Regions from separate parts of the Homo sapiens genome. Here regions 1 and 2 are each linked to region 3. Evidence: promoter capture Hi-C in human tissues and cell types (Jung and others, 2019). All regions are on one chromosome and are shown on one strand. The core of a region is centred on a gene start or on the middle of the fragment in contact, and the rest is flanking DNA. Distances in the headings are between cores, read along the strand shown. Region 1 overlaps FHOD3 (formin homology 2 domain containing 3). Region 2 overlaps FHOD3 (formin homology 2 domain containing 3). Region 3 holds the start of FHOD3 (formin homology 2 domain containing 3).

Region 1 (2,872 bases), core at 123-2,622, 230 kb before region 3:
AACTGTGCCTCTGAGAATTTTGAGTTCCAAGCACTAACATCTGGCTGCCTATCTTCTATAAACAGCCCAGTTCAAGTTCTAAGGTCCTTCATGTGTTGAAGCTCCAGTAGACCCACCATGTCTGTGGCCTCGAGGAAGCATAATATTGTGCAGAGGGCCAAGTGGCTCAGCTTCACCTGGATCCTTACAAAGCCCCTCCCACTGTGGGAAGCCCAGGCAGGCAGGCCACCCAATGGGGCATCACGCTGGGGACAGCAAGTCAATCAAACATGGACATGGTAGAGACCACGTTAGGAAGGGCCTTGAATGACACAACGAGACACTATTTCATCTCCTCTAACAATGGTTTCTTGCCTTTAAACGTTTTAATGGAACCTTTTCCAAAAGAACTCTCCATGCAATCTCAAAATCTCAAACAGGTAAAACTGGATGTTCTGCGGTTGAGGTTAGAGGGTGATTTCTCTGCTTCCAGGTGTGGGTGGGACCCGGTGGGTCTCCGAGGGAACCCAGGATTTGTGGAACAACACGTGGTAACTACTGATTCTTCACACAAAGAGGGTTGGGAAGGATCTGAGATGACTCATGAGGGTTCTTGGAAGAGCTTCGGTTTCCATTCTCCTGCCAAGAGTAGAGTAGACAGGAGACTCAGAAATATTTCTGATGGGGAAGGAAACCAGAAGCTCCCTCTGCCAGGCTGAGCACAAGTACCAGTAGCCACAGCAGCTCTTCCTATGGGCATGACAGCCCAAAGACACCTCCACTGGTCCCCTGTCCCCCAGGTGCCACAGAAGCCACTATGGATGTCCCTTTTCTTCCTTCTCTCTTCCAGGGAGGGTGAGACTTGAGGGAAGTGGCCAGGGAAGAGGAGCGTATGGGTCCTGGAGTTTCCTAAACACACAGACCAAGACTAAAGACTGGATTGTGGCAATCACTGCCCTGTGTTCCCCGAACACTCACTGAGAAAGAGATACTCCATACTTTCTTGGTGTACTCCAAGTCTAGAAATCACAGAGCCTTGCTGATGTTCCAAATTACGGTTATGGAGAATAAACATTAAGAGGTACAACTTGAGGCCTGGGAGGAACTTAGGGTTTTCCTCCAATGGCTGCATGAAAGCCACGCCGCAGGGAGATTTTCTCCAGAGGCAGCTGTGCAGAGAACAGAAGCAGGCCAGCAGTGAGGCTGAGGGCAGGCAGGAGAGCAGAGGGAAAGAAATGGAAATGAAAGATATTTCAAAAGAAAGTACAAGACTCGGCAAAAGGATAAAGGGAATGCAGAGGTGCTGGGCTGGGCAGGGCAGGAGAGAGTTGGGGAGACTGTGACACGCACAGGAATAGCCCAGGCAGGAGCCAGCCTGCCTGTGGGCAAACTGCTCTGGTGTCAAGCATCCTGCCTCCGAGAGGACCGCAGGCTGTAGACAGCGGAAGACGTGGGACAGGAGCTGGAGGAAGAGCCAGTCCCAGAGAGTTCCACTTTGGAGACAGTTTTTCAGACTTATTCAGTCTATAAGCTGTTCCTGTGACTTCTGCTGTATCCATATGGCATTAAAGCAATGTTTGTTCGTATCAAACAGACTCCTTTGAAATCAGTGAGTCCATGTAATCTTAGGTACTGCAAATGCATCCCAGAGGCATTCTGTCCCTCCAGATGAGCCCAGTTGAGCTTTTCTGTGATTTAGGAAGGGAGGCAAGATGGGGCCAGCAGGCAGAACATGGAGGGGCAGCTCAGGATCGGGGAAGGGTCTCAACCACTAGAGTGTTTTGGACAGGAATGGCTGTGACTGTGAGGGCTGAAATAAGGGGCACAGTTGAAAGAAAAAGCAAAGGGACAAACTGCAAAGCCAAGGTTATCAAAGGGGAAAGAAGAGCATCCCTCGGGAGGGAGCAGGGGTGGGTTGCAGGCACTGGGCCATGGTCATGTGGCAGGCCCAGTGATGCACAGATGGAGACAGTGACTGCTTGCATCCTTCACAGATGGGTCTTCCTTCTGTTCATGATGCAGAAAGCACTCTGGCTGGGTTACATCTACAGCTCGATCACTGTCCAGCCACAAAACCACCAGCAAGTCACCAGAGCCCTCTAGACCTCAATTTCCCTATGTGCAAAATGAGGTTAGAGTAGGAGGCCTCTAAGGCACCTTCTGGCTCTAACATCCTGTGTCCAGCCAGGCCAGCCATTGGACACTGAACTAATTCAACCATGGTCACAGAGGCAAGACCCTTGGGGACCAGTGGAAATAGGCCAAGGAAAAGTCTTTTCCCAGCCCAAAGTCTCCAGTCATCTCAGTCACACAGTCACTCACCGCAGGGGCCTCAGGGAGAACAAGACTAAGAACAAAAGCCCCAGCTACTAAGAAGCAACCCAGGATGAATGCAAGACTCCTGTGTTCAGAAGTAGCAGTTCTAACCCGGGCTGGAAAATACACAGTATGTTATGAGAACATTATGAATAACCCCTTGACCAGCAATTCTACCCCTAGGTAAATCCTAGAGAAAATCACATGGATGCACAAGGAAATACAACAAGAATGTGCATGCTGGCATTGTCTGCAACTCAAAAAACCTGGATATTACCTAAATGTGGACCAACCAGAGAACTAATAAATAATTGCAGTACATCCATACAACGGAATACTACCCAGCAGTGAAAATGGACAGGCGAGAGCCATGATACCAGCATGGATGGATCTCACATCATTACACTCACTCATTCTCTCAACAATCACTCACAAACACAAGTCCTCTGTGCCAAGGTGTTGTTCTAGGCAGCAGGGACACTCAATTTAATAGATGATGCCCCTGCCCTAGTGGGGGTAGAGAGAAAAGAAACCACCATTAAGTAACACACATAGCCTGACAGACTATGTTGAGCCC
Region 2 (2,753 bases), core at 50-2,549, 140 kb before region 3:
TGTCCAGTGTCTGGAAGTTCCTAAGTATTCCAGTCTTTGGCAATGACACTTCTAAATTGTGAAAAATAATAACACTCTCTCACTATGACTCATAGAGGAAACAGTCTGTAATCAGTAATTTATTATTCTATTCCAAAGCTTTATTCACGGACTTTCATGAACTAAAGTCAGAAATCCTAACTTAGCATAATTTGACTTGACTTTTCTAATTTTGTTTTTGGGGCTTTTTAAAAAAATCATGCAACGTGTCACTGTAACTTGAGCAAGGTTCCTTCTAGCACTACCAACCAAATTCAGTGAGTCCACGATTCCATGAGGAGGTACATTTTGTTCCACGGGGCAGGCACTGCGTCTAAAATGTGATGAAGAGATGGCACTTGGCTGTGATGTCTATAATTAAGGAGCATCACGGCAATTACACAGCACAGCTGTTTGTGCGAAGCTTCCCTGTAACATGTGGTTTCCCAGCATATCATCTCTATCATAAGCTTAAAAATAAGAAGGAGCCTACCAGCAGACACAAAGCTAAGAATTCTGCCAGCAGGGACTCTGCCCACTACAACAGCCACAGAGACGTCCAGCAGTCTGCAGCAGGCCTCCTAGAAAACCTCCTGAAGCCTTCTGGACCCAATTCTGGCCTCCCTGTCTCCAGTCACACTTCCTGTAGACTCCAGCTTCAGCCTCGTCCTCATCCTCTATGTTCCCGTACAACTCTGAGCTTCCACATTTTCTGGCACTTACCACATTAAAGTAGAATTGGCCACTGACCACCCCTTTCTCCTCAGAAAGCAGGGTTCATGCCCACCCTTCTGAATTTGCCCAGGGTCTGACAATGCCTGGCTCATGCAGGTCCTCACCTCGCATTGGTGGGCAGGTGCAGCCTGTGGGAAGCACACCTCAACATCCAGCTCTGGGGCATATACCTGCTCACCTCACCCATTTTTACTGAGCTCCTGCTTGCTGGGCAATATTCTAGCTGCGAAGAATGTTGCAAAGACAAAGAGAGAAAGGAAGAGACTATCCTCCTGGAACTGAGGAATCTATAAGAGAGAATGACCTTACACACACAACCATGCAATTGGGGAAAATATTATAAAAAAGCAAAAAGTATAGCATGCTCTAAGACCATGTAACTGGGTGCCCTGCCAATTGCAAAAGCTTATCCAAGGCAATAGCAGGGCAGGAGGGTGGCGGGTGGAGATAATCTCAGCAGATAGTCACAGCCCCACCATTTAAAATACAAGAGGAAAAAAAATAGAGATGGGCCAAGTGCCCAGCCTCAGAGGAATGGCTACACATGGCCTATCCAGGCAAGCTAAGGGAATGCGACTACTGAGCCATTTAAAAATGACAAGCATGTGAACTATGTTGATTATGTGGGGAGATATTAATAGAGTTTATTATGTATTGGGTTTTTTCTACCATAAAGGTGCTTAGGTTCATTAAGAAAAATTTCAAAGCTTGGCCTCCACCACTCCTGCCTCAAGATAATCTTCAGAGTCCTGGAGCAGCACTGGTGGCCCTTGGGGGCTTGGTGGTCAGAGGAGCAGGCACAGGTGGCAGAATATGAGCAGTGGGAGGGCCGTGGAGGCCCGGAGGAGCCCCTTCATTTGACCAACGCAGACTCAGAGGAGGCGGGCAGCGCGTCCAGCTGGGACAGTGCCCCACGCCCTTTCCCTCCCCGACGTGTGGCCCTTTCAAGGAGCTCCTCAAATAAGGAAGGGGAGTGGGAGATCAGCAGCCACATCCTCTGTCAGGAAGAGAAGGCTCTCCCCAGGCGGATGTGGAAAGGCTTCCTGAAGTGCCCTGCGCCTGCTTCTGCTGCAGAAGATGACAGCTGGGCCGGTGCTCATTGGATGGCTGCCCGAGCTTGAGTGCTCCCCTTGTTTTTTGGGTAGTTTATTCCTTAGCTATTCAAAGGATGGTCCCTGGACCAGCAGCATCAGCATCACTTGGGAGCTTATTCGAAACAAAGAACCTTGGTCCTACCGGTACAGACCTACTAAAACATCACCTACATTTTAACAGGATCCCTAGAAGAGTCACTAAGATGGTGGAGGTTAAGTGTCAACTTGACTGGGCTAAGGGATACCCAGACAGCTAGTAAGACATTATTTCTGGGTGTGTCTGTGAGGGCATTTCTAGAAACGATTCACATTTAAATCTGTAGACTGAGTAAAGAAGAGCCCCCTCACCATTGTGGGGATGGGGAGGGCATCATCTAATCCATTGAGGGACCACATAGAACAAAAGAATCGAAGAGGGCAAATGCTTTCTCTGCTGGAACATCCATCTTTTCCTGCACTAGGATATCAGAGCTTCAGGTTCTCAGGCCTTTGGACTCTAGGACTTAACACCAGCTACCTCCCAGGTTCTCAGGCTTATGGCCTCATACTGAGAGGTTACACTGCCCACTCCCCTGGTTCTTGGCCATCAAACTCAATGACACCACTGGCTTTCCTGAGTCTCCAGCTTGCAGACAGCAGATCATGAGACTTCTTGGGCTTCATAATCACATAAAAAGTCTCCTCTTATGTAACTACATACATACACACACACACACACACACACACACACACACACACACACACACACATTCTATTGGTTTTGTTTCTCCAGAGAGCCCTGACTAATACAGTCACATGCACATTCAGATTTGACAAGTGCTGATTTAGTCCTAGAGTGTGGGAGGATTCATTTATTCATTACCCAAATAGTCATTGACTCCTCTGCTAAATCCTGGGGCAGAGCCA
Region 3 (3,210 bases), core at 576-3,075:
GAAACCACTTCAAGGTCACAGGGCCACAATTATGAGCCTTTGGTGGTTTCAACAAAAGATCACTGTAATCAGAGACCGTAGTGGCCTGAATAATCATGATGTAGAAGAAGCTCTTTGAAAACTTTTCACTGAATCAACTAATTGAGAAGAACCAAATAATTTACAAAAGTGATTCTGATCAGCTGAATCCAGAATACATCACTCTGGATGATGACGACCCTCTGTCTCCCAATCAAATGTGCTTTTGTGGCCAGAGAGGTTTCCACGACTGTATCCGTCCTGAACCAACCAGGAGAGAATGAGATGGAAATGCCCCATTCCTTATTCCTGAAAACGTTACTAACTAAGTAGAGGAGGAAAGCACTGATACATTAATAGAGAGGAAACTACCACTGCTAAAGTCCACCAGTTTCCTCACACAACCAACCTCCTCCTCTACTTGCAAAGCAGGTCAACATCATACAGAAATCCGAGGTTTTTTTTTAAATCAATTTTGTTCTTTTGGGCATCAACGCTTATCTCTTCCAAATATGTGTTAATGTCGACCCTCAAGAAATAAATCATCTCCAAGCTTTGATATGAATCCTAGGCAGAAAAAATACTGGGAAGGTAATTTTGCAAGCTGCATTCAATCTGTCTAAGTGAGAGTAAGGGTTTTCCTAGGTAACGAAATGATTAGCTTTCAATACCCACCTCTTTGCAACAAATGCTTTGCAAGAGGCCTATCCTCCTGCAAAAGGTTTTATTTAAATAAAAATAACAAATAAAAAAAAAAAAACCTCTCTAACGGGTAGACTGAGCAGCCATTCTTCCCAGGGGACACTCATTTCGGGCTGCCAAGCTGAGGCTTTGTGAGCGCGCCGCCCCTCCGCGCCCCCGCCCCTCCTCCCACAGCGACTGCTCCTCCGAGGTTCCCAAGGCCACCTGCTTCTCAGAAGAAAAGGGGGATACCCTGAGCGCTATCGCAGTGTGCGGCCGGCGTCCCCGGCGGCGCCCCCGGGGGAAGGAGGAGGCGGTGTCGCCGGGAAGCGTGCTTTGTCGCGAGGGTCGCGTGGCCGCCCGCAGCGGCCCCAGAGGCCTGAGGGAGGTTTTGTCCCGGCCGTCGCTCAGAGCTCTCCTCTCCAAGGGACCTGAGTCTCGCGGCGCTCCGCTTCTTCCCGCGCCCCGCTTGGTGCCCGCCCGAGTGCCGAGGCCGACTGCCCGCGTCCTAGCCCCACCCCGCCCACCCGGCCGAGCTAACGGCGCGGCTCGGGGGAGCCTTCTCCATCCCGCCTCGGACCGGCTCGGCACCTGCTCTGCCACGCCCGCCCCCGGCTCTAGCTGTTCCTTCCCGCCCGCCCCGGAGGGTCCTGCGCCAACCAGCGGGTGCCTCGAGCCCTTCTGTCTAACGGGGAGGGGGATTTGCCCTCGAGCGATGGTCCCCCCGGGCCGCGCCCAGCCCAGCCCAGGGGGCCCACGAAGCCCCGGGACCCACCCCGGCGCGCACCGCGGCAGGGGGCTGAGTCCAGGGGGCCCAGCCCACCCCGCCGGGTCGTACCTTGTGCGGCGCCTGCAGCAGCCTATGGACCCCCGCCAGCTGGGTGCCGAGCGCGAGGTCCTCGCGGAACGTGAACAGCGGCGGCCGGCTGGGCTCGGGGAAGTTGGTGCTGTTGAAAGGGTCCGTGTCGTCCAAGAACTGCACCCGGCAAGCCAGCGTGGCCATGATGCATCCCTGCCGCGGGGGCGCGGGCCCCGGGGTTAGCGGGGCCGCGGGCCGGGACGCCCGGGTAGCTGCGCGCAGGGGAGGCCGCAGCCGCAGCTCGCTGGCTCGCGGACTCGCAGGCTCAGGCGCGCCGGGCTGCAGCCCGGGCTCCGGCCGCGGGGGGCGGGGCGGGGGCGGGGCCGGCGGGCCCCCTCCTTCCCCTCTCCCTCCGGCTCCTCCCCTCCTCCGGGTCCTCTACCCCCGGCCGGGCTGCCCCGAACGACCGGACCGCAGCCGGGAAAGTGCAAAGGAGACGGCTCGCGCGGCATCCGCAGCCCTGCGCCAAAGGCCGGCGGCGGAGGCGGGGCGGGGAGGCCGGGCGGCCGGACTCTGCTGCACGTGCGCCCCGCGGCCCAGGGCCGAGCTGCACCCCTCGGAGCCTGGAGGACCGAGTTGGGGAGTTGGGGGGTTGGGGGACGGGGAGACAGGCGGCCTTCTGACTTCTTCCCCACCCGGAGAAGGCTTAAGCCTTTCCAGATGAAGGCGGCGGCGGCCGGCTTCTGCTGCCCAGATTTGGAATACCCCGGCAGGGCACCAGGTGGCCAGGGAGCCGGCTTCGGCAGCAAGAGGGGTGGTGGCAGTGACCGGGAGCCCCACCTAAGGGTACGGGGAGGTTTCCCTTAGGGACAAAGAAGCTAAGAAAGAGGAGGGTGCGCCAGGGAACCCAGGCCGCTTTTAGGGCACAAGCCTAGAGTCGAGAGGCGTGGGGGCTGCGAGGCTTCGCTGCGGGACTCCAGCGCCGGGCCTGGACCCCGGGGCTCCCGGCGGATGCTGGTTAAACCTCTGCATCACCACGGCCTCTCCCCAGTTAGGCCGCCGAAAGCCCTAATTGGACCTTGTGGGGCCGCGGGGGCTTGGGGAGGTGGGAGCCCTTCTGGCAAGGTTCCCGAATTGCAGAGAGCCGGGGATGCCCTGGTAACCGAGGGACTGGGAAGGAAGGTTTGCGTCCTGCCCGCCCCTGCCAGGCGGGAGCGGCAAGACTCGGCGCTGCCTCCCACCGCTCTCCTCGCTGCTCACGGGCGACCCCCTTCGTTTTCAAGAAAAATTCACGGTTCTCCCTATTCCCAGGCCACAGCCAAGTTCCTGGTTCCTCCCCCCTTATATAGATCGCCCTCATAACACCCAGTCTCTCTTAACATCCGAGTGTTTTCAAGGCGACTCTATAACGCGTCTATCTCCCTTTCCTCTGGTTTCAAGGGAAAAGAAACCCTTATCCCTATTTAGCAGCCTCACCCACATCTTTAACCTCTCCCTCTCCGTGATCTCCCTCCCTGCCACACATACACACTTATGCCTGATCTTAAAATAATAATTCCACGACACTTCCGCTCCTTCCAGACGAACTTCTAGCTCTACTTTCTTTGTTATTTAACTCTTTGAATGAATCCTCTAGATTAGCCGTCCCCAATCTTTTTGGCACCAGGGACCGGTTTTGTGGAAGACGATTTTTCCACGGACAGTGGTGGGGT

The links. The method cuts DNA at HindIII sites, captures the fragments that hold promoters and counts their contacts. A contact is called where the count stands out against the background at its distance.
Region 1: a fragment that was not itself captured here is called in contact with the fragment with the promoter of FHOD3 in region 3 in 3 of the 25 tissues and cell types used here (hippocampus, mesendoderm cells and thymus).
Region 2: a contact is called between a fragment that was not itself captured here and the fragment with the promoter of FHOD3 in region 3, in 1 of the 25 tissues and cell types used here (aorta).

Annotation. Positions count from the first base shown.
Region 1 is chr18:36,530,332-36,533,203 of GRCh38, reverse strand. All of the region lies in intron 5 of FHOD3 (formin homology 2 domain containing 3), which reads right to left. Among named protein-coding and RNA genes, the nearest start is that of FHOD3, 230 kb to the right of the region's middle. The HindIII fragment of the contact is 6,512 bases long and covers 1-2,872 here.
Region 2 is chr18:36,439,365-36,442,117 of GRCh38, reverse strand. The region is part of intron 3 of FHOD3 (formin homology 2 domain containing 3); the gene reads right to left. Among named protein-coding and RNA genes, the nearest start is that of FHOD3, 140 kb to the right of the region's middle. The HindIII fragment of the contact is 3,315 bases long and covers 1-2,753 here.
Region 3 is chr18:36,296,328-36,299,537 of GRCh38, reverse strand. FHOD3 (formin homology 2 domain containing 3) reads right to left here and starts at 1,825. Exons shown (of 29, transcript NM_001281740.3): 1 at 1,538-1,825. The coding sequence starts at 1,702. RefSeq lists silencers at 1,583-1,652, 1,773-2,062 and an enhancer at 2,002-2,979. The HindIII fragment of the contact is 5,975 bases long and covers 1-3,210 here.